6 separate regions of the Homo sapiens genome follow, and all the other regions are linked to region 6. Evidence: promoter capture Hi-C in 16 types of primary human blood cells and fetal thymus (Javierre and others, 2016). All regions are on one chromosome and are shown on one strand. The core of a region is centred on a gene start or on the middle of the fragment in contact, and the rest is flanking DNA. Distances in the headings are between cores, read along the strand shown. Region 1 has its middle 8.2 kb from the start of SNHG21. Region 2 overlaps BNC1-AS1 (BNC1 antisense RNA 1). Region 3 holds the start of AP3B2 (adaptor related protein complex 3 subunit beta 2). Region 4 overlaps AP3B2 (adaptor related protein complex 3 subunit beta 2). Region 5 overlaps BNC1 (basonuclin zinc finger protein 1). Region 6 holds the start of C15orf40 (chromosome 15 open reading frame 40).

Region 1 (3,744 bases), core at 801-3,300, 270 kb after region 6:
CCTCCCAAAGTGCTAAGATTACAGGTGTGAGCTACTGCACCTGGCCCCCTCTAGTTTCTTTCGGGATTTTTTTCTTTATCTTTGATTTTCTGTAGTTTGAAAATTATATGCCTGGTTGCAGTTTTCTGTTTTTGTTTTTTATATTTATCTGCTTAGTGTTCTCTGAGCTTCCTGGATCTGTAGTTTGGTGTCTGACATTAATTTGGAGAAACTCTCAAGTCATTATTCTTTCAAACAATATGAATAATTTATTCTATTCCTTTCTTTTCTCTCCTTCTGGTATTCATAATATGCATATGTTATATCTTCTGTAGTTGTTCCATAGTTTTTGGATAGTCTCTTCTGTTTGTTTGTTTTTTTTTTGTCTTTGTTCTCTTTTATTGCCAGTTTGAAAGCTTCCTATTGGCTGGACATGGTGGTTTATACCTGTAATCCCAACACTTTGAGAGGCCAAGGCAGGTGGATTGCCTGAGCTCAGGAGTTCAAGACCAGCCTGGGCAACACGGTGAAATCCCGTCTCTACTAAAATACAAAAAATTAACCGGGTGTGGTGGTGTATGCCTGTAGTCCCAGCCTGGGCAACATGGTGAAACCCCATCTCTACTAAAAATACAAAAAATTAGCCGGGCGTGGCATCATGCGCCTGTAGTCCCAGCTACTTGGGAAGCTGAAGCAGGAGAATTGCTTGAACCTGGGAGGTGGAGGTTGCAGTGAGCTGAGATCACGCCACTTCACTCCAGCCCAGGCAATGAAGTGAGACTCCATCTCAAAAAAAAAAAAAAAAAAGAAAAAAAAGGTTTCTGTTGATATATCATCATATATCATATCTTTCCTCACCATGTCCAGTCTATTAGCCCATCAAAGACATTCTTCATTTTCTATTCACAGTGTTTTTTATCTCTTGCATTTTTTTTGGTTCTTTTTTGTTTTTATTTTATTTTGTTTATTTATTTATTTTGGAGATAGAGCCTCACTGTTACCCAGGCTGGAATGCAGTGGCATGATCTCGGCTCACTGCAACCTCTGTTTCCTGGGTCTGGGTTCAAGAGATTCTTGTGCCTCAGCCTCACAAGAAGCTGGGACTACAGGCACGCACCACCACCCCCTGCTAATTTTTTTGTATTTTTAGTAGAGACAGGGTTTCGCCATGTTGCCCAGGCTGGTCTCGAACTCCTGAGCTCAGGCAATCTGCCCCACTTCGGCCTCCCAAAGTGTTAGGATTATAGGTGTAAGCCACTGCTCCCAGCGTCTTTTTGGTTCTTTCTTAGGATTTCCATCTCTCTGTTTACACTGACCATCTGTTCTTGCATGCTGTCTACTTTACCCATTAAAGCTGTTAGTATATTAATCAAAGTTGTTTAAAATTTCTTGTCTAATAATTCCAACATTCCTGCCATGTCTGGTTCTGATGCTTGCTCTGTCTCTTCAAAATGTGTGTTTTGCCTTTTAGTTTGCCTTGTAATTTTTTCTTCATAGCTGGACAGGATGTACCAGGGAAAAGGAACTGCTGCAAATAGGCCTTTAGTAATGTGGGGGTAAGGTGTGGGGAGAGGGAAAGTATTCCTCTATGAACCCTATGATTAGGTCTCAGTCTTTTAGTGAGCATGTGCTTCTGGAATGTGAACTTTACAAGTGCTTCTCAGTTTTTTTCTTCCCCCTTAGGTGGGACAAGATGGCCAGAGTGGGCTGGCGTTGGGCATTTTTCCCTTCTCCCAGGCCAGTTAGGCTCTGATAAAACTCCAGCCATTTAGGCTCTGATTAAATATTTCTCCCGAGGGCAGACTTTGTTAAGAACAGCATGCTCTGGCATGTTTCGAAATGGTTCTTTTTCTTCTTCTCCTGCTAGAAGCATGACAAGATTTTTCTCTAATATTTATTGTGAGAACCTGGTCAAACTCTTGGAGGTAAAACTCACAGAAGCTTGGGTTCTCCCTCCCCTGTTTCTGGTTTCTTCTGGAATTTTTGACTCTCAGACTTGTCTACACTTGCCTCTGGCAATTCAATTACAGTTCATGTTTTTCTGCCCTGGCATTGGTTCCTTTGTGGAGATTTCTGCTCTGGGTAGCTTGTGACTTTTGTACATACCTGTCTGCCTCTCCAATTTTGGGGATAGTGGTTTGCCCTGTGACCTCACTTTTCTTCTGGATTTAAGAAAAATTATGTCAGTTCGTTAAGCTTTTCTTTCTTTTTTTTTTTTCTGAGACAAAGTGTTGCTCTGTTGCCCAGGGTGGAGTGCAGTGGCGTGATCTCACCCATCTTTATTTCACATTGGAAGTATTCCTCAAATGTCTGGAGTGGGGGGGTCTTGACTGTTTATATTTTTTAATGAAGTAATAAGTGGATTACGAGCTCTCTTGTGTGGAACTTTTCTGATGGCCAAGATGATGGGACAGGAATGCTGACATTTTACTGTAATGGGTAGAATGCAGGGGATTTTCTACGGAGCCCTTAGATTTATTTCCAGAATAACGTTTCAGCGTGATGTGTGAATGTATGGGAAATTCTGGATGGTCTGTGTTCCTCCTATCACACCTTCACCCTGGGGGTAGATTCTTGGCTGTAAGGCATTCTGCATGCAGAGGTGGAAGGGAAGGAAAACTGTTTCATATGTGGAATCTTGGCCTTATATCTCATTCCTGTACTCAGTTGTCTCTGATATTTCCTGGTTCTGGACCCTTCTAGCATTCCGTAGTGTGAATTGTTTTTTTCCTGGGGTATATCTTCCACCCTCTGCAGTTTCTTCTGCTTCCCCCCCGCATCAGTATCATTCCTTCATCAGCTATCTTCCAAAATTTCTTTGAAATCTCTGATCTACTAATGATCTTTTCCCCATTCTCTTGTTTAGATCTTTATGTTTCTTTTCCCATTCTCTTATTTATATCTTTATGTCTCTTTTTATTTCTTAAGTATGATTTTAATGAAACTTAGGAGGGTGAGATGATAAATCATGTTTTCAATTTTAACAAGGCAAAAACAAGCTCATCAAGCATTCACTGGTTGGGCGCTGTGGCTCACACCTGTAATCTCAGCACTTTGGGAGGCCGAGGTAGGGCAGATTGCCTGAGCTCAGTAGTTCAAGACTAGCCTGGCCAACATGGTGAAACCCCATCTCTACTAAAAATACAAAAATTAGCCAGGCGTGGTGGCTCACGCCTGTAATCCCAGCACTTTGGGAGGCTGAGGTAGGGCAGATTGCCTGAGCTCAGGAGTTCAAGACCAGCCTGGCCAAGATGGTGAAACCCCATCTCTACTAAAAATACAAAAATTAGCCAGGTGTGGTGTTGGGCGCCTGTAATCCCAGCTACTCGGGAGGCTGAGGCAGGGAGAATGCTTGAACCCGGGAGGTGGAGGTTGCAGTGAGCCTAGATCGCACCACTGCGCTCCAGCCTGGGTGTCAGAGTGAGACTGTCTCAAAAAAAAAAAAAAAAAAGAAAAGAGTTCACTGATTAAATTATGGTCTATTCATACAGTAGAATACTAGACATTCATTTAAAATGATGCAAGCAGGCTGGGCGCGGAGGCTTACACCTGTAATCCCAGCACTTTGGGAGGCCGAGGCAGGTGGATCACCAGAGGTCAGGAGTTCGAGACCAGCCTGACCAACATGGAGAAACGCCATCTCTATTAAAAATACAAAATTAGCCAGGGGTGGTGACGCATGCCTGTAATCCCAGCTACTCGGGAGGCTGAGGCAGGAGAATTGCTTGAACCCAAGAGGCAGAGGTTGCGGTGAGCCGAGATTGT
Region 2 (3,845 bases), core at 1,164-3,663, 300 kb before region 6:
ACCTTCATAGGCATGTGCTGTGGTAGCATTCAAAAATATATTTTCTAGGTATCTGAAAAGAAATGTAAAAACATGTAAAATAAGTACACAAAAGCCAATTAACAATAGCATCTGGGGGAAAGAGAATGGAATGTAGGGGAAATCCTTGGGAAGCACACAGCTGATAGCTTCAGCAGCATTTCCTGAGCTTTGGCTTTGACCTATTCTGAGAACCTTCCGGGGCCTCTCAGGCAATATTACCACAGACAGGTTTTGCAAACCAATGGCTTATGGGCCAAACACAGCTCACAGCTGTGTTTCATTTGGCTGGAACAGTGAATTCATTTTTTAAAAAAATGTTTTTAATTGATATATAATCGTTTTACATATTTTGGGGGTATATGTAGTGAATTCATTTTTTTAAGTTGAAAATCTTTAAATAAGACAGGTGCTTTCCAGTTTACCACAGGTCTTCCCTGCTCCCAGTTGTCTGACACTAACTCATCCACATGACCTGCCAGACCTCTGTGGGCATCTAGGACTGTGACCCCTCCATGCCCTAGACTCTGGTTCTCAAACTTGACTGCCCACTGGAATCATCCACAGGAGCTGTAGGAAATACCCATGTCTGGGTCCCAACCCTGAGATCCTGATATAACTCACCAGGAGTGCAGCCTGGGCAGCAGGAATTTTAAAAGCTCTCCAGGTGATTTGAATGTGCAGCAAAATGTAAGAATCACTACCCTTGAGAAAGGAAACTAGCTGAAAATCTATGACCCAGGGTGTGTTCCACAAGGCACGCTTTTCTCTAAATTAGCTGTTTCCCTTTACCTGACGCTAGGCCACATGGACAATGGAAGGGGCACCTACTTCACCAAGACCCTCACATTCAACCTACCCTGATGGACTCCAGGCCAAACTCCCCAAACTATCCCTGGTGATTTGGGAGATAATGATCCCTTTTGAAATGATGGGTTAGGGCCATTTTCTAGAGCTTTTAGTAGTTGACAGGTGATTTGGCCACAAGCACAGAGTCAATCATCTTGTATTAGGCATGAGGTGCCTTTTCATTTGATTCATATTAGATTTATAACAACATCATGAAGAAGGTATTACTCTCCCATTTTATAGATGGGAAAATGGTGACACTTAGCTCTGGGGCTATAAAAGCTTTACTGTACACTCAGTAAGTCAGGCTATGGTTGATTTTATTTCAATAAACATTTGGTGGCTGTTATGATGCCTGTGGAGAGCTACATCCCAGAACAGCCCCGACAATTGTTTACAGCCAGCATGTGCTCTGATTGTTCAGTTCCTGTGTCACATTGGACAGTAAATACTTGAATTTAGAGTCATTGGACTTGTATTAGGCACCAGGCAGTTTTATCATGTCTTTTATAACTAAAGTGATAAGATGTGGTCCCAGTGCCTCAAGGCTCAAGCATCGAAGGGGAAACAGACACTGAAAACTTTGCAATAGGATGTAATGCATCATAGAAAAAGATGGAAACTGACCAGACGCAGTGGCTCACGCCTGTAATCCCAGCACTTTGGGAGGCTGAGGTGGGCGGATCACCTGAGGTCAGGAGTTCCAGACCAGCCTGACCATCATGGAAAAACCTCGATTCTACTAAAAATACAAAAAAATTAGCCGGGTGCGGTGGCGCATGCCTGTAATCCCAGCTACTGGGGAGGCTGAGGCAGGAGAATCGCTTGAACCCAGGAGGCAGAAGTTGCGGTGAGCCAAGATCGTGCCATTGCACTCCAGCCTAGGCAACAAGAGCGAAACTCCATCTCAGGAAAGAAGGAAGGTAGGAAGGAAGGAAAGAAGGAAGGAAGGAAGGAAGGAAGGAAGGAAGGAAGGAAGGAAGGAAGGAAGGAAGGAAACTGAGTGTTATGAGAGCATCAAGCATCTATCTCTACCTCTGCAACACCAAAGAAGTCTCCACACAGCAAGAGATATTTAGACCTACATCTTGAAGGATGAGTAGGAGTTTCTCAGGCAGAGAAGTGGCTAGGTGGGTGAAGGTACTTGCTGAGCAAAGGCACGGAGGTACACCAACGCACGGCATGTTAGGAAAACTTGGCTTGGAGTCAGGAAAAGAATTGCAGATTCCCTTGAAGGTCAGTTTATCCTGCTTATCTATAAACTTAATGGTTCCGAATGGCCTTAATTATTTTTTCAGTATTTGGACCGTCAGGTCTGTTGTAGATGAGTTTCCCAGCTGCAGAGATAGAACTCACTATTGTGGCAACATCCCTAGTCTTTTACTGAGCACCTTTCTCCTTTCAAATAGCATTCCAGAAATCTGAAAGTGTCCCTTATCTCTAGCAGAAAGTAATCTATTTTTCTCTCCCACTACAGTCAAGAGTACAGTGGCATTGCCAATTATCTTATATTAGCTGGTGCCAATGGCAGCATTATTTTTTAAAAAAATCATAGGAAGAGATGGAAATCTCAGAAAAGGAACACACAATGTAACACTAATACTTTGGATATTTCTTTTTTTTTTTTTTTTTCTTTTGAGATGGAGTCTCGCTCTGTCACCCAGGCTGGAGTGCAGTGGTGCTATCTCGGCTCACTGCAAGCTCCATGTCCCGGGTTCACGCCATTCTCCTGCCTCAGCCTCCTGAGTTGCTGGGACTACAGGCGCCTGCCACCACACCCAGCTAAATTTTTTTTTTTTGTTTGTATTTTTAGTAGAGACAGGTTTTACCGTGTTAGCCAGGATGGCCTCGATCTCCTGACCTCGTGACCTGCCTGCCTCGGCCTCCCAAAGTGCTGGGATTACAGGCGTGAGCCACCGTGCCCGGCCTGGATATTTCTTTAAAATTTTCTTGAGACGACCATAATCTGTCATTCCACTAACACATTAGTGTCTGTAATTCCTCTTAGCATGTCTTTTAAAATCCATCCTTTGTACCTTACTGTGGACATCTTTTTTAATGCTATGGAATACAGAAATTGTGGATTTTTAATATTCAGACTTAGTGAATTATCTAAATGAGCTCACACAAGGCTTTCACTTGATCTAATTATGGTTACACCTTCCAATGCATCATCAGAAGTAGCATTGTCCAAGATCAGCCAAGACATCTGTGCATGAGCCTGCTCTCCCCTTTTCACGTGCATGTGTTTTAGCCTGGAGTGATGTACATGACTTTGATATTCTTCAATATTTTCAAGCGGGAAGGTCTGTACAAGATTAATTACAAACTTAGGGCCTAGTGTAACCCAGTCTCTCATTATCATTAATGAACCTCTTCTTCTGTACTAAGAAGAGACCTCTAATTGGGTTTATTTCTTAGAGTAGATATAAAGGTATCCCTCAGAAGTTTACTGTGATGACCCATTATGTGAAGTCAACCTGCTAATCTATGCAAACTGGAGGATCCACTGAGAATAATAATTTTTTGTCACATTAGTCTGTTGGGGGAAGCCACAATGAAAATCTACTGCATCATAATATATACTTGGTTGATTAATCTGTAAGTACAACTTGGCTTTAAATTATTCATGATAATAGCCCTTAATATACTAGTTTACTGTGGCATATTTTGTATCAGTAATGGAGATCTCAATCCTTTAAGAACATATTACAATTCTCCACTATTAAATCTTCCCTGAGAGGTGGGGTAAGAGCCTGACCAGGACTTTCATGGGAATGTCATGTTTGCAGCATAATAATCAAGCTTTACTGTTCTGAAGAGACTTTCATCCTAAGGATCTCAAAGCACTTTATGAGCCTTCATTAGTGCCAGGAATACCCTGAAGGCACCAGCGTTTTACTATCTTCATTTTATAGGTGAAGAAACAAGACCAGCTGATGAAGTGACTTGCCCAAGGTCACATACCCTATCAAAAG
Region 3 (3,818 bases), core at 883-3,382, 300 kb after region 6:
CCCAAGCCCAAGACAGGTCTCCCTGAGCCCTGGGCAGACCATCCGACCTATGGTCATTGGAAGGACCCACCTCCTCCCTATCCCAGGCCTGTGTAAACGCCAGGAAGGCAGGTCCCTTTCTCCATGCAGGCCCTGACTGGGGCAGTCAGCACCATTAAGTTCTTCCTCTCTGAGGCTTTCCTGGGTCAACACTTCGAGGCTGTGTAGTTGGAGGGCAGGGAGCCTGAGCCAGGAGACGTCTTCCTGTTCAGGCTGATTCCCCCCACCTGACGCTGGTGCGGGGCCCACGTTGGCATATACTGTGGCCATGGAGAGATCATCCACTTTGAGGGTGAGTGCCTCCAGCAGAAACACAGGCCCAAGTCTGCGGAGAGGCTGCCCAGCCAAGCCACGCCCCACCAGTGAGCTGGCTACTCGGGGATAAAGACTGAAGTCCCAGGCTGGGGGTACGTTTCTCTGAAAATGGGGTTTGGGCACTCAGGGTCCCTGAGGTCTCAGGAAATGGGGGTGCGGGATCACAGGGCATAGGACCTAAGCCTGGCTCTGATCCGCACCCCTCTGGCGATCCCCGCAGGCAAGAACTCAGGAGGCTGTGGGCTCCTGGGAAGTTTCTGGGCTCCTGGAAAGGCATCGTATCCAAACAGGGGCAGCGCCCGCTGCTGCGCTCCTGCTGGCGCGTGCTGCGCAGAGTGAGCGAAGCGACGGACGCGGACCCACCATCCTATCACTCCATGCGCAGCAACTGTGTGCACTTTGCACTGTGTCTGCTCGTCCCAGGTCCCAGCCTGGACCCCCGGCAAATAGACGGGAGCTCCAGCAGGTCGGTGAGCGTGGCCCAGCTACCTGCACAGGACCCATCCCACCTCCTGAGCAGACTAGCCAAAGCGCCTTATAAACGCGCAACTGCAAAATCCAGGCCCTTCTCTTCCCACTCCCCACCCAGGCCAGTTTTCTCCAAATTCAAGATCCACTTTTCTCTGGCAGGCACAAAGCCACCGGAACCAAGCGGACCCACCCACTTGTCTAGGTTATCCCAACAGAACCTTCTCATTACCCCAATAGAACCTTACCCCAGTAGAATTACCCCCAATAGAACTTTTCTACTGAGCCAAGCTCCACCTTTCTGGGCCCCACTCCTTCCCAGGTAGGCCCGCCAATTCTGCCCATGGAGACTTCGGGATGCTAGTTACAGACCAAGACTCAGGCCTTAGGAACTCCTCCAGTCCCCATGCCCAGCTAAAAGACTCCAGCCACCTCAACTGATGCCCAACTGGATCCTACCTCTTCCCCCAGCCCAATTCACTACTTTCCATCGGATCCAAGCCTTCCTTCCTTGGGCCTAGGGGTCACTCGGGCTCGGGAGCTGAACTGGAGGGCTCACATGACTCAGGAGCCCTGGTGGTCACACCAGACCCTTCTCTTCCTTTTCAGGTGTCAATGGACGTGGACGTGTCCCCGGATTAAGCATGACCTTGGCCCTCCTGGGTGGACGTGGAGGCTTCAGAAAGATTCATTAAACTACTTTCCAAAGCTTAATTAGATGTTCACCGTCCTCTGTATCCTGTTTCCCATCTCTCTAAGCCCCCAAGGGCTCCTCGGAGCTCCCTGACCTTAATTCCTTAAATTCCGCCACCTCCAGGAAGCTCCTCGGCTTCCTGCTGCCAAGCCAGATTTTGTAGGAAAGGTGGGGCGGGAAAGGGAGCGTCCTTAGGTATCTGAGGCCGGTCCTCGGGTGCGGTGACCCCTTCCCGCTCTAGAACCCCCAGCCTGCGGGCACAGCCTTCTTTCCAGTTCCCGCTTTCCCTCCACGGCGTGGGTGAGCATCCGCGCGTGCGTCTGGGGAGAGCGGAGCCCCAGAGGCCCGTCCCGCCGAGGCCAGGTGGTCGGGGGTGGGGGCAGCTATTCCACATCCCCTGCAAGACGGTCCCAGCGTCCGTCCAGCAGACTCGCCCACCTTTAGATCTGGAGACGAGCCAAGTCGCTTTAAAGGGCAGAAGACGCCCTGAAGAGGGCATTTCCTAGGGATGGGCGGGGCCAGGCCCTGACGCACCGCCCCTGTCGCCTCCTCGCGGACACGCCCTCCGCTCGGCTGGCGCCGGTGCCTTTAAGACCTCAGCGCGCGGCCCTGATTGAGAAATCCGCGCGCAGCCTCCGCCGCTGCACACTGCAGCCTCTGCTGAACCCCTGCCGCGCCGCCGCCTTCGCCAGCCCGGACCGGACCGGCCCGCCTTCCCTTCCTCCGCTCCAGCCGGCCTCCGGCCCCGCAACCTCCTCCTCGGCGAAGTCTCCCTGGCCGCCCCATGTCGGCCGCCCCCGCCTACAGCGAAGACAAGGGCGGCTCCGCTGGCCCCGGGGAGCCCGAGTACGGCCACGACCCCGCGAGCGGCGGCATCTTCTCCTCCGACTACAAGCGGTGAGGGAGCCCGCCAGGAAGCTCGCGGGAGGGTTGGGGCCGGGGACCGGGCGAGGCGCGCGGGCACCATGGACAGCGCCCGGCCCCAGCGCCGGCCCCGCCCCGGCCGCGCCGACCGGAAGCCCGCCCGGCCCCCTCCTGCGGCCTGGAGCCCCGGCCCAGCGCGGGCAGCGCTGGCACCCCGGCTCCAGGGGCCGGCCTAGGACGCGGAGGGGGGCAGATAGGGGCTGGCGGGGGATGGGCCAGCTCAGTTTCGAGAGGAGAAACCCTCCGGTTCCAGGTGTTTCTCCGGTTTGCGGCGTTGCGTTAGGGGTTCCCTTCCTTTTTCGTGCTAGGCGGGTTGGCTTCCCAAAAATGTGGGGGAGGGGTCTGAGTCAGCGAACTTGAGCTTGAGCCTGGGGCCTCTTCAGGAAGGCGGGCCCTGGATGTACTTGCACAGCCTCCCAGCTTGGCCCTGCTGCAAATTCATTTCCCCTCCCTCTGGTCCCCATCTCCATCTGACCCTCACATCCCTGCTCCTGGCATTGCCCCTGTAGTTCAGCTCCACCTTCACACCCTCCCCCACCTTTGATTCGTTCGTTTGTTTCTTCATTTGTTTATTCGTAAATTCTGCAACAAGCATTTATGAAAAGCCAACTGTGTCGAGTCCTGAACTAGTCACGGAATACAACTGTGAACATGAGACCCTTCTTGTCCTCACGATGCTCTAGAGGGGAGCACAGATGAAGAAGCAGTCAGGGACAGTCGAGTGTAATGGGGGCAGTGGGAGCAGGGAGAGGACCTAGTCTCTGGCGCCGGAGAGAAGGAAGACAGGAGCGTGAGGTATGTTCCAGGCAGAGGAAAGGGCTTTCAGGAAGGTTGAGAGCCAGGCCACAATCTGTGTGAGCCACTGGACTGACCAGAAAAGAGGGTGGGGAGGACTCCTGAAGGATTCTAAGCAGGCGACATAATCAGATTTATATTTTAGAAGGACGTCAGGCTGCTGCATTGTGGAGAAGAGATTGGAGGTGGGCCAGATTGAACAAGAGACAAGGGAGGTGGGTCTTGAAGTTCACAGGCCTGGCATGATTGTGGCCTAGACCAGGGGAGAGGCAGAAGATTTGAGGCTGTGGAAGAGGTGGAAGCCTCAGACCTGATGATTAATTGGATATTGGGTGGGGGTTTAGAGGGACAGGGGGAGAAGATGAGGATTTTCACGCACGTCCATGTGAAGAGACCACCAAACAGGCTTTGAACAATAAAGCTTTTTAATCACTTGGGTGCAGGCCAGCTGAGTCCGAAAAAAGAGTCAGCGAAGGGAAATGGGGTGGGACCGTTTTACAGGATTTGGGTAGGTAGTGGAAAATTACAGTCAAAGGGGGTTGTTCTCTGGCGGTGGGGGGACACAAGGTGCTCAGTGGGGGAG
Region 4 (4,063 bases), core at 1,101-3,600, 320 kb after region 6:
TTCCTTCTTTTCCCAAAAATATTCTTTGGAGTTCTTACCTACTGATTTTTTTTTTCCAGATGAATTTTGCTGTCACTTAAGTTTGACAAAATGTTCCCTTTGAAATTTCAAATTTTTGAAATGAAGTATGAGATCTAAAAAAAAAAAGAAACCTGTGTATTGGCTCAGCATTACCCTTATTCCTCTCAGCCAAGTGCAAGGGATCACTTACTCAAATCTTTATTCATCCCACTAGAGTTTAATGACTTCCTTGAATGGCTGTTCAATGTTCAGTGACAGGTCTGGCTTTTGTTGTGAGGCCATCTATGGAGTCTCTGGGACCCTTCCAGTCCCTGGAATCAGTTTGGTCTGAGAGGTCAGGACTTGGAAACATACTGGAGGCAGGGCAAGGGCACCCTGCTCTTGTTTTGGCATCTACCTCTTTTCCGCTGGTCCTTCTTATCCATCCAACTAGTCCTTTTCCCTGAGCCAGGTCCATACTTTCCCACCCCAAACCCTTCCTCTTGTTTCCTGGCTCTCTGTTTCTGGCTACATTCATTTCCTACACTCCTGTATCAAAAGTACCACAATTGCTTCTCGTTCCCACAGTGCAGTGCGGCTGAGCGCCTCAGAGCCCGCGGGGACGCTGCGGGGGGATTGCGGGGAGGGGGCGTTGGGAGGTGCCGATGTTGGGCTGGGCGGATGAGCGCATCTGCGTGGTGAGCCTTCCAACGTGCGCGAGAAGGACGTGGAAGACCTTTTCTACAAGTACGGCCGGATCCGCAAGATCAAGCTTAAGAATGGGCACTGCCTTGTGCCCTTCGCCTTGGTGCGCTTTGAGGACCCCCGAGATGCAGAGGATGCTATTTATGGAAGAAATAGTTATGATTATGGCCAGTGTCGGCTTCGTGTGGAGTTCTCCAGGACTTACGAAGTCGGGGTGGGTGGCCCCGTGGTGGGAGGAATGGGCCTTCTGCAAGAAGATCTGATTTCCGAGTTCTTGTTTCAGGACTTCCTCAGGCAGCTGGCAGGACCTGAAGGATCACATGCGAGAAGTTGGGGATGTCTGTTATGCCGATGTGCAGAAGGACGGTGTGGGGATGGTTGAGTATCTCAGAAAAGAAGACATGGAATATGCCCTGCATAAATTGGATGACACTAAATTCCACTCTCATGATAGTGAAACTTCCTACATCTGAGTTTATCCTGAGAGAAGCACCAGCTATGGCTACTCACAGTCTCGGTTTGGGTCAAGGGGCCGTGACTCTCCATACTAAAGCCGGGGTTCCCCACACCACTTCTCTCCTTTCAGGCCCTACTGAGACAGGTGATGGGAATTTTTTCTTTATTTTTTAGGTTAACTGAGCTGCTTTGTGCTCAGAATCTGCATTCCAGATTGAGGATTTAGCGTCTTAGGAAATTATTTTAATTTTTTTTTTTTAAAGAAGAAAAAAAAACTACATACTTTCTACCAGGGCCATATTAGCAGTGAAACATTTTAAACTGCAGAAATTGTGGTTTTGGTTCAGAAACAAGTTGTATATTTTTCACTCCTGAATATGGGTAAAAAATCAGTTCCGTCTTTGTGGGTTGCTCTGCTATGGAGATCAACAGTTACTGTGACTGAGTTGGCCCATTCTGCTTAAAAATATGTTTTAAACGTTTAAGAAAAATGCTCATCATCACTGGCCATCAGAGAAATGCAAATCAAAACCACAATGAGGTACCATCTCACACCAGTTAGAATGGCAATCATTAAAAGTCAGGAAACAACAGGTGCTGGAGAGGATGTGGAGAAATAGAAACATTTTTACACTGTTGGTGGGAGTGTAAACTAGTTCACCCATTGTGGAAGACAGTGTGGCGATTCCTCAAGGATCTAGAACTAGAAATACCATTTGACCCAGTGATCCCGTTATTGGGTATATACCCAAAGGATTGTAAATCATTCTACTATAAAGACACATGCACACGTATGTTTATTGCAGCACTGTTCACAATAGCAAAGACTTGGAACCAACCCAAATGTCCATCAGTGATAGACTGGATTAAGAACATGTGGCATGGCTGGGTGCGGTGGCTCATGCCTGTAATCCCAGCGTGGCTCATGCCTGTAATCCCAGCACTTTGGGAGGCCAAGACGGGTAGATCACGAGGTCAGGAGATCGAGACCATCCTGGCTAACACGGTGAAACCCCGTCTCTACTAAAAATACAAACAATTAGCTGGGCGTGGTGGTGGCGGGTACCTGTAGTCCCAGCTACTCGGTAGGCTGAGGCAGGAGAATGGCATGAACCCAGGAGGTGGAGCTTGCAGTGAGCCGAGATTGCGCCACTGCACTCCAGCCTGGGCGACAGAGCGAGACTCCATCTCACAAAAAAAAAAAAAAAAAAAAAAAAAAAGAAGAAGAAAATGTGGCACATATACACCATGGAATACTATGCAACCATAAAAAAGGATGAGTTCGTGTCCTTTGTAGGGACATGGATGAAGCTGGAAACCATCATTCTGAGCAAACTACTGCAAGGACAGAAAACCAAACACTGCAGGTTCTCACTCATAGGTGGGAATTGAACAATGAGAACACTTGAACACGGGGTGGGGAACATCACACACTGGGGCCTGTTGTGGCGTTGGGGGAGGAGGGAGGGATAGCATTAGGAGGAATACCTAATGTAAATGACGAATTAATGGGTGCAGCACACCAACATGGCACATGTATACATATGTAACAAAGCTGCACGTTGTGCACATGTACCCTAGAACTTAAAAGTATAATTAAAAAAAAAAAGTTTAGTAATTGAAAAAAAAAAGTACAACAATTGGGTTGGTTGGAACAGCAGAAATGAATTGTCTCACAGCTCTGGAGGCCAAAAGTCTGAACTCAAGGTGTCGGCAGGACCATGCTCCCTCTGAAACCCATAGGGAAATCCTTCTTTGCCCCTTCTAGCTTCTGGTTGTTTGCTGGCAGTCTCTGGCATTCCCTGGCTTGTAGACGCATCTTTCCAATCGTCTGCCTTCACATGGTAGTCTCCCTGTGTCTGTCTCTTTAAGTGGCTGTCTTTTGTTTTTTGTGTTTTTTTAATTTCAATTTAATCTATTTTTTGTAGACACATTGTTTCACCATGTTGCCAGGCTGGTCTCGAACTCCAGGGCTCAAGTGATCCTCCCGTCTCAGCTTCCCAAAGTGCTGGGATTACAGGCGTGAGCCGCCACACCCAGCCCACATGGCTGTCTTCTTATGGGAAACCAGACATGGGATTAGAGACCCACTCTATTAGAGTAGGATTGCATTTAACTAATTACATCTGCAACAACTCTATTTCCAAATAAGGTTACATTCTGAGGTACTAGGGGTTAAGACTTAAATATATCCTTTTTAGGAAGGACACAGTTCAACCCACAATATTAGCTGGCCACATGTTTCCCCTGATCTGTACTTTACTTGTTCCCCCTGGCTCTGGTCCCTCCTCGGGTCAGGTCCTGCCTGAGCCTCCCCTGGCCATGTCCCTTCTTTGTGCCTGGACCCTCCTGATTAATACCCCATCCCCACCCTTGTGCCCTCAGCTGACTTCTTGTACCTCCCACCAGGCATGATGACCTGAAGGAGATGCTGGACACCAACAAGGATTCTCTCAAGCTGGAGGCCATGAAGAGGATTGTGGCGGTAAGAGGGGAAGGAGGAGGCCTCCCTCCGGGCGGGGCCTGGGTGGCCAAGAGCAGCTCTCCTTAGCTCCTTGTAGACCTTCCCTCTAGTTAGTGCTGTGCCTCTCGCTTTGTCCCTCTTCCCCTACCTTGACCCCACCACCCAGATGATTGCCCGAGGAAAGAATGCTTCAGACCTGTTTCCCGCGGTGGTGAAGAACGTGGCCTGTAAGAACATAGAGGTGAGCACTACCTGGTGAGGGATTGCTTGTCCCCACCTCCCCCAGGACCACACTCAAGCTTGGGGTGAGGAAGGAAATGATTTAGCCCCTGGGGGCCCGACCTGCTGAGAAATGTCTCTGAGCCAGGAGAAGACACTGTCTCCATGTCCCTGAACTGGATGTGGATCAAGGTAAAGGACCCGGATACACTCAGGGGT
Region 5 (4,128 bases), core at 392-2,891, 270 kb before region 6:
CTAACATGAAGTAATTGCCTTGGAAGCATGAGATTTACTGGAGGGCTATTTTATGTTTTATTGCATCTCCCCCATGTAGCAGTTAGGCCTGCATCCCAGGCCCATGCCCACTTTCTGTACCTCAAGATCATCAGATTGGAAAGACGATCCAACCCGATAGATGAGAGAGAAAAGCCATACAGGTTTCCCTGTGGAACAAAGTAGTTGTCCCTAAGCACACATTTGTCATTTATGAATGCCTAGGGATAAGTATAAACAGGGAAACATTTTAAAAGTTCAATTTGTCAGTAAAATTAAACTGCAGCTTATGGAGTGGGGGGCAGAAGTGTCTTTTAGCTTCTGTATGTGGCTTTAGAAGTAATTTTGATGTGGCCATTAAAAGGGATGCCCTGAAGGTTCCACAGGGTAAATTACTTACAGGAGTGTGCTTCACCCCAGGGTGAATTTTCTCCTCTACAGATGTCATTTAGAGTGGGTTACTTTTGTCAGAAACTGTCCTTTTTAGAAGGAACTGAAAATACCTTAGCTAAGGTAAAATCTCAATGATGAGCCACCCATCTTTTTAGTATCTAAAATCAAGATTTTAGGGAGTTGGTACTTTTCTTTTAATTACGTAATTCCAAGTGTTCTACTGCAGAGTTTTTGTTTCTTTATTTTTGATGACTTCTCTGAGAGATGTTAAAGATAACTGGATTCTGCTCAAAAGAAGCATCTGGAAAGCATTTCTTTTTCCTTTTAAACTGGTTTCCACCTGAAAACCTTATTTCTGCATATCTTGTCATTCTTTGAAGTCCTTTTCCTAATTCTGGAAATTCCAAGCTTCCACTGTGGCACCATTTCTCTGCACGGACACATGCCTATTTCAGCCGAAGAGGGTGGGTATAAACAGAGAACAGACTTGTTTCTCCAGGGTCCAATTTTGGGCCTTCTCAAACCTCACATAGTTAGTTATCGGCAAACAGACTGTCACTCTTGCCGTCTACACATGGACTCATTATTATAAACCAGCCTAACAAATCACAGGAGGACTCTGCCTTGGGGAAATGATAATTTCATTCAACTAATGTGAAACAAAAGAGAGATGGAGAAATAAAATGTGAGGGTCAGGTCCAAACAGCCCTGTCCATAGGGAAATAGTTGCCTCAGGTAAACTCTTAATTCAGGGTTCTAACATTTTTTCATATAGTTAGATTAGTTTGATGGTCTCCTACAGATTATTTGTGTGATCCTACCAAATACTCAAACCTCAAATTTCTTTTCTAGTTGTACATCAGCTTCCGGAAGTGTTGTCCTTTTTCTGTAGTCCTCTAATTGTTTCTTGCATTATTCATTATGAAGGTAAAATTTTTATACTGTCAACTCTTAGCATTTCATGATACTTCACACTGAATTTGAAGCAAGGGATCAGGATGGCATAATTAACTAAGTTTGATCTTTTCTTTTTAAAAACTTAGTTTCAAAAACCTAGTTCTCAATGAGTCCCCAAAAGAATGTTTTACAAAATCTTACTTAGAAATGTTCACAATTTCGTCTTTATTTTGTATCAGCAGCAGTAGTGAAGTTGCATTGCTTATGTAACTTAGGTAAAATTATGCTAAAGTGTAAGTGTTTTGCTCTGTATTTTTTTCCTCAGGCTGATTCAACTATGTTCGGAAAGTTCCCTTTACATGCAATTAATATCTTTTGGTTTTTTGTTATCAAAGGTTTCTAAAGATTACCTCTGAGGTTTCCCAAATTAGGTTATAAAGGAAAAAATATATCCATATAATTTACATTTCTGTACAGTTCTTAAATTTTTTTAAAGAAGAAATATTTGGCTTGGCTTTTAAGGTAGTGTTTGCATGTTTTTCAGCTATTTCATAGATTTTCAGTTTTTGAAACTAATAATTTTAAGAAAAAAAGCACAGACATTAAATTATTTTGGCACACAGTTTATACTTTGATTCATAGACATCAAAAGAACAAGTATTTTCCCCATCACAGTCTTTGAACTAAGCAGCTAGAGAACACTACAAATGTGTCATGCATACTTTAAACTCACAGGTAGACTCAGCCCAATCAATATCTGTCACTTGAAGGAGCTCTACCTCCCACCTGCCCTTTCTCTGCCAGACCCTTCTCCATGCCCTCAGTCTTTGGTCTCTCATTTCATCCTCATACTTGGAGTGAGAAACCAGATTTTGTCCATTCTCCTTTAGTGTTGTGTTTATATTGCAAATGCTGACTACCTGGTTTCTGAGGCTCCCCACATCTCCTTTTAACCATGCTTGTGGTAAACAGTGCCTCCCCATTGTAGAAAGCCAATGATCCTATGAACCCAATAAAGAGACTCCTGGCTGCTCATCTGGACAGCCCAGGCCCACCTTATTTTGTCTTTCAAGGTAGGTCTCACTGCCCGTAACAGAGACCTGTGCTCTGTGGCCCAGGCTCCTTGGCCTGACACATATGTACATGTTAAGCTTTACATTGTACCTAGGCTTGTGGTATTTCTTGCATGCACTGATGAGAGCATGCCTTCTTCCTGGAGGAAGCCCTCTCTGGCCTCTCTGTACAACCTTGACTTCTCCATTTCTCCTATCCCACTCAAACTATTTAATTTGGGGGAGAGTAGGAGTTTGACTTATTTTTTTCACTTTTTATTATAGAAGATTTCAAACAATCAAAATTAGAATGAAACTTGATGTAATATGTGCTTGGGGATTCAACAGTTACCAACTTTGGGCCAGTCTCATTTCATCTGTATTTCCTACCCATCATAACCAACACTAGATTACTTTAAAGCAAATCCTAGGCATTATATAATTTCATTCATATATATTATAATATGAAGCTCTAAAATACAAAGGCTCTTTTTTAAAAAACCAGGGCAATATACCATAGAGCACCTAAAAAATTAACAATAACTGTAATGTCATTAAATTTCTAATTGGTGTTCAAATTTCCTTGATTACCTGACAAACTTTATATTACAGTTGGTTTCTTCAAATCAGGATTCAAGTAAGGTCCGTACATTGTCTTTTTTAATATATAGGTTCATACTTTACTTTTTTCCTTGCAATTTATTTGTTGAAAAAGCTGGATCATTTGTCCTGTAGAGTGCTCCCTGGTCTGAATTTCAATGATTATTTCCTTGTAGTATCATTTAAACATTCCTGTATCTCCTGTATATTCTTAAATTGGAGTTGAGTAAGAGGCTTGATCCAATTCAGGTTTGAACTTTTTTATCAAGAACACCATATGTGTGGTGGTATGTATCCTTCAGTCCAGAGACAAATGGCCTCCTATTTTTCATTAGGAGTTGCGGAATGGTGATACTCCAGTTCTTCATTTATTTGATCCACATTCAGAGATAATCTTTGTCTCATCAATGATTTTTTTACCCTGAAATACAGGTTATATAGCAAAGGATACACATTTGATTTTTTTCCTTTGTTTACCAATTTTCAGAATAGTTAGTTGGTTTCCTAGCATTTTCTAAAAGTGGCCAATGAGTTTTGTTTGTTTTGAGTATATTTTGAATTCCTAGATTTTAACACAGTGAATGACTCATGCTAATTTTTGACAAATCATATTCTCTACTCTGCTGTTTTTGACCAACCCAGTTGTGTGATTTTTTCTTGCAGTCATTCAAGTCTTCCCTAGTGTCAGACACTGGCAATTACTCATCTTTGTATCTCCATGAAGCTCCCCATGGTTACCAAGTACATAGTAGATGCTTTAGAAACAAACAAATAAAAACCTTGTTAAATAAATGATTATCATTTTCTTAAACTATTAGTGGAAGATGATGGCATGATGTGTTGAGTGTCTGCCCCATGTGTGTTTCTCAAGGTCAGCTAAAGTCCGACACTCTCACCTGCAGATAAGCTGCCTCACATTAAAGGACTTAGTGGGCTTCACCTCTCTTCTTCCCGGTTGTCCTTATTACCTATTTGGCAAAGGGTGATACTATTTTTCAGAATCCTAGTTGTACCTCTGTGGGTTTTCATATGTAAGAAAAACAATGGGAAACTTAAAAAGAAAAAGTGAAAGGAGTGAAAAGTGAGAGGTGGGAAGGTAAGGAGAAAAAAAAAATCCAGTTCTAATAAGGAAAGTAAGAAGTGCAGAGGCAAAGTAGCTCCAAAGAGC
Region 6 (3,894 bases), core at 529-3,028:
AGTGAGCCGAGATCCCGCCACTGCACTCCAGCCTGGGCGACAGGCTCTTCCCATCCCCCTGTCTCAAAAATAAACAAAAATAAAATAAGGTAACTATAGATTGGGATCATAGATGATTTCACGGTCTCCCTTAACTGTCTACCGCTGGGTGAGTTGCAATAGTCAGCCCTTTGCCATTCTCAAGAGTCCCAATATACCTTCAACACCTCCCCCGCCTTAGTTAATGAAAGAAATTCCACCTCCCATCACCAAACCTACAAACACAGCTACATGTCCACCTAAGCTTTCCCTTAGGAAGGAAGGAGTGTCTAAGGCCTCCTGTAGAGAACTCAATCTCTACTTGAGCTCAGATCCTACCTCTTCAGGAACCGTCCTCTGCTGTAACCTCTCTTCTCCTGGCTCTTTCCTACCAATCTTCAAATATGATAAAAATAAGTCTCTGAATGTCATGTGCCCCTCCAGATACCAATTGCTCCTTCACAGTGAAGTCACTGGATTATTCTCTACAATTATCTCCATTTCCTTCTCTCCACTAAAACTGCTGTAGCCCGGGTCACCACCACCACCCTGATTTCTAAATCTTGTGGCCACTTCTCAGTCGTTACATGTGACATGTTCTCTCCAGAGTGTTCATCACTGTTGATGTTCCCTCTTGAAGCGCCCTTCTTTAGCTGCCGTTACACCGTACTCCTACCTGGTCAGTGTCCTTTGGTGACTTCTCTACCTGCCCTTGCTGTTCTAACCTGGGCCCTCGTGCTCTTTACACACTCTCTCATCCATTTCCATAGCTTCAATTGCCATCTGCTTTCAGAAGATTCCAGAATCTCTATCACCAGCCTTGATTTCGCAAACTCCAGTCACATATATTCAGTTACCCCTTTAACATTTGTATTTGGATGTCCTGTGGGCATCTCAAACTCATTATGTCCAAAGCTGAACTCCTCACCTCGGCCTCCCAAACCTGTTCCTTGGGCCCCAAACCTGGGCATTTCCTTGACTTTTCCCCCTTATTCGCACATGCAGTCATTCCCAAGTTCTGATCATTTCAGTTCCTGAAGATCCTTGAAATGATCAGCGCTCCACCCTCCCTGCGGTTACTCTAGTTCAGGCCACCCTCTCCCATTTAGGGGGCGGATCTCCCTGTCTCTGGCTTTTCCTCTGTCGGCCACAGTGCAGCCGGTGTCTTTCTAAAACCCAGCAAATTGGGCTGCTAATAATCCCTTGCTTGAAAGCCTTCAGTGACTCCATGATCTTGCCTCTGCTGATTTGTTTCATGTCTCTCCATATCACATGTCGCAGTGTATTTCCTCTTCTTTTACATTGTGGGATCCGCTGCGCCTGGCACAAGGTAGGTGCGCCATCGATACGTGGAAGATTCACAAGGGCCAAGCCGCCACGAGGCTCTATATCGACTTGATGGCCACAGGCAGCGCGTGGGACTCTGCATCTGCTGCTTGGCTGTGGGAGCGAGAAGACACCTGGCCCTGTGCACTCCTTGCCGCGCTCTCCAATTCTGAGAAGTGACAATACCTTTCTTTCCCCGATTAGGAAAGAGGTGACACACCTTCCTATCAGCTGAGCAGGGTGGGCCAAGACACGGTGAGGCCTCAGCTCCGCAGCTCCACTTCCTGGGGCTCGGCCCGTTCCAGAACAAAAGAGACTCGCGCATGTTCTGCGGCCACGAGACTCGCTCCCGCCGGCCTTAAGGTGTCGCCCTCTGGCCAGAGCGGATGCGCCGGGCGGTGGGGCCGCTCCTGCCGGCTACCTGCGCAAGCGCAGAGGGCTCTTCCGGCGCCTTCCCAGGCGGGGATGCTGCGGCTCCGCAGCGGGCTGAGGCACCTTCGGGCAACACCCAATACTCGGGGCTCCGCTCGGCTTCTTTGCGCCGAGATGCCTAAGAAGGCTGGTGCGACGACCAAGGCCAGTAGCAGGTCCCGTGGCGGCAGAGGGGTGGGCCTCAGGGGTACTTGTTGAAGAGCGCGGGAGAAGCGGGGCCCGGGAGTGAGTGGAGGCACTGCCAGCGGCTTGCCGTCTCTCAGTTCCGGGGCTCAGGACAGCCGCCGCCACCCCCAGAGCTGCGGCCTGCTGCCGTCGCCCCGCCTCAGTAGGCTGCGCTGCCGTCCACCTGGTGATTTCTGAGCGCTGGGCCCGGCGGCAGCCGAGCTCTCCTTGGGCTGCGTGTGCTGACCTTTGGCCTCCTACCCGCACTCCCAGTCCAGCAATTCATGTTCCCGCAGCGGCATGACCTGCGTTTCCCCAGGAGGCTGTATTCTGCTTTCTCCTCCCTTGCTTTGGCTGATCGCACCCCTTCTGTCAAGAATACAGCACTCCCATTTCCACCATCTTTGTTTGGCCAACCCCAGTCCGTTTCTCAGACTCAGCTCAAGCACTGCCTCCTGCTGGCAGCATTCTCCAGTGCCCCAATGCTGATTTGCCTGTGGGGTAATGTTCTGTGCCTATCTCATCGGTGCACTTAGCACAGTGTATTATAATTTTGTATGTTCTTTCTCCCTCGCAGCAGTCCGAGCTCCTTGAGAGCAAGGACCATGTACCTTTTCATCTTTACATATCCATTGCCTACATATTTGTTGAACGAAAGTTCCTAGCACAGCCCCTGTCCCATAACAGGCCTTTAAATATCAAGCACTATTTTTTTTTCCTCCCTTTCCCGCAACATGCAGACATACACACTTTCACCAACATTTATTAGCTCCGACTGCATGAGATACAATGATGAATAATAAATGATCCCTGCCCCCAAGGAATTGGAAATACAAAGCAGAGGGAGGAGCAAGCATTAAGGTTTAGAAGCCAGAGTTAGGTTTTCTTGCAAGGGGGGAAAAAACACTGTTGGGTTGATGGGAACCCTTCGTGGGAAAATTGAGTAGAGCCTTGAAGGTTGTGGGAAAAGCTTTCTAGGTGGCCAGAAGTCCCTGGACACCACTGATGAGCCTAGTTTGTCTGTTAAGGGTGAAAGGGGGTAGTGGAAGAATCAAATTAAATGTGTGGGAAAATATTTTGTAACCTGTAAAGTTGTGTGGTTGTCATTTTAGGGTAAAAGCCAGAGCAAGGAACCAGAGAGACCACTTCCTCCCTTAGGTCCTGTGGCAGTTGATCCTAAAGGATGCGTCACCATAGCCATCCATGCAAAACCTGGCTCCAAACAAAATGCTGTAACAGGTATACCTGGACACTGGGGTGGGATTCAAGTGTGAATCAGGTGTCTCCTACAGCCCTCCTTTGCTTTGGTTAGCTGAAAGCTTATTCTATGACAGTTGATTTTTCACATCTGCAGTTAGAGGCTTCTCCATTTTAAAATTCTAGATTCTAATGTAAAGGTGTCTTAAAGTGAATATATCTTTAAATCATGCCAAGTTACACGAAAACCATTGTATATTTTCCTCTTTAAAAATACAGTATTTTAGAAAGGACAGTTATGGAAACTTGTGTGTAGTCTGGATTATTCTTAGTTTGTCCTGTTCCAAAACTGGAGACATTGGCCAGAGAAAGAAGAGACATTTTAGTGTAGTTTAATGATCACTGGCCTAAGGAGAGGGAGAAAACTTGAGATCTGAGACCCGTGATCAGTTCCTGTGCGAATTTGTTTTAAATCAAAACAGTATAAAACATTCATGGGTCCAGTTTTTTCATCTGTCAGATGAGATCGTTGGACTAAGTTAGAGGCTTTCAGGCTATTCTCTGGAGTGCTGGAGGTGCCTCAGGAATCAGCTTTGGGCAAGGAGGAGGCCAGGCAGACAGGGCTCCTGACTAGCTCTGTTTACATTTGTTTTACATATTGGGATTCTGGAGAAAATTGGGGGAAGGGATTCTAAAGGAAAAAAAGTTCAAAAACCATTGCTCTAAATTCTTTTGAAGGTCTTTTTCACCTCTAAA

The links. Contacts are between HindIII fragments. The CHiCAGO score rates a contact against its expected background, and 5 or more counts as called.
Region 1: a contact is called between a fragment that was not itself captured here and the fragment with the promoter of C15orf40 in region 6, in 13 of 17 cell types (naive B cells, total B cells, activated CD4 T cells and 10 more). The highest score is 12.7, in naive B cells.
Region 2: a fragment that was not itself captured here is called in contact with the fragment with the promoter of C15orf40 in region 6 in 1 of 17 cell types (endothelial precursors); the score reaches 5.0 in endothelial precursors.
Region 3: a contact is called between the fragment with the promoter of AP3B2 here and the fragment with the promoter of C15orf40 in region 6, in 11 of 17 cell types (naive CD4 T cells, monocytes, naive B cells and 8 more). The highest score is 8.0, in naive CD4 T cells.
Region 4: a contact is called between a fragment that was not itself captured here and the fragment with the promoter of C15orf40 in region 6, in 7 of 17 cell types (naive CD4 T cells, non-activated CD4 T cells, total CD4 T cells and 4 more). The highest score is 7.9, in naive CD4 T cells.
Region 5: a contact is called between a fragment that was not itself captured here and the fragment with the promoter of C15orf40 in region 6, in 1 of 17 cell types (endothelial precursors). The highest score is 5.2, in endothelial precursors.

What each region holds. Positions count from the first base shown.
Region 1 is chr15:82,740,480-82,744,223 of GRCh38, reverse strand. No RefSeq gene overlaps it. Among named protein-coding and RNA genes, the nearest start is that of SNHG21, 8.2 kb to the left of the region's middle. The HindIII fragment of the contact is 255 bases long and covers 1,923-2,177 here.
Region 2 is chr15:83,307,045-83,310,889 of GRCh38, reverse strand. The region is part of intron 2 of BNC1-AS1 (BNC1 antisense RNA 1); the gene reads right to left. Among named protein-coding and RNA genes, the nearest start is that of BNC1, 24 kb to the right of the region's middle. RefSeq lists an enhancer at 1-280. The HindIII fragment of the contact is 2,523 bases long and covers 1,152-3,674 here.
Region 3 is chr15:82,708,189-82,712,006 of GRCh38, reverse strand. It overlaps AP3B2 (adaptor related protein complex 3 subunit beta 2), which reads left to right and starts at 2,132. Exons shown (of 27, transcript NM_001278512.2): 1 at 2,132-2,413. The coding sequence starts at 2,301. It also overlaps the pseudogene LOC338963. RefSeq lists silencers at 2,079-2,128, 2,349-2,608. The HindIII fragment of the contact is 2,125 bases long and covers 1,534-3,658 here.
Region 4 is chr15:82,688,961-82,693,023 of GRCh38, reverse strand. It overlaps AP3B2 (adaptor related protein complex 3 subunit beta 2), which reads left to right. Exons shown (of 27, transcript NM_001278512.2): 2 at 3,571-3,646; 3 at 3,792-3,866. CPEB1-AS1 (CPEB1 antisense RNA 1) reads right to left here. Exons shown (of 4, transcript NR_046096.1): 4 at 204-1,013. It also overlaps the pseudogene LOC100421235. Among named protein-coding and RNA genes, the nearest start is that of AP3B2, 19 kb to the left of the region's middle. The HindIII fragment of the contact is 3,152 bases long and covers 775-3,926 here.
Region 5 is chr15:83,277,870-83,281,997 of GRCh38, reverse strand. All of the region lies in intron 1 of BNC1 (basonuclin zinc finger protein 1), which reads left to right. Among named protein-coding and RNA genes, the nearest start is that of BNC1-AS1, 4.1 kb to the left of the region's middle. The HindIII fragment of the contact is 1,640 bases long and covers 822-2,461 here.
Region 6 is chr15:83,009,523-83,013,416 of GRCh38, reverse strand. C15orf40 (chromosome 15 open reading frame 40) reads left to right here and starts at 1,778. Exons shown (of 4, transcript NM_144597.3): 1 at 1,778-1,920; 2 at 3,054-3,180. The coding sequence starts at 1,810. It overlaps LOC124903542 (a long non-coding RNA gene), which reads right to left and starts at 1,676. Exons shown (of 2, transcript XR_007064742.1): 1 at 358-1,676. RefSeq lists an enhancer at 1,541-1,600. The HindIII fragment of the contact is 2,628 bases long and covers 286-2,913 here.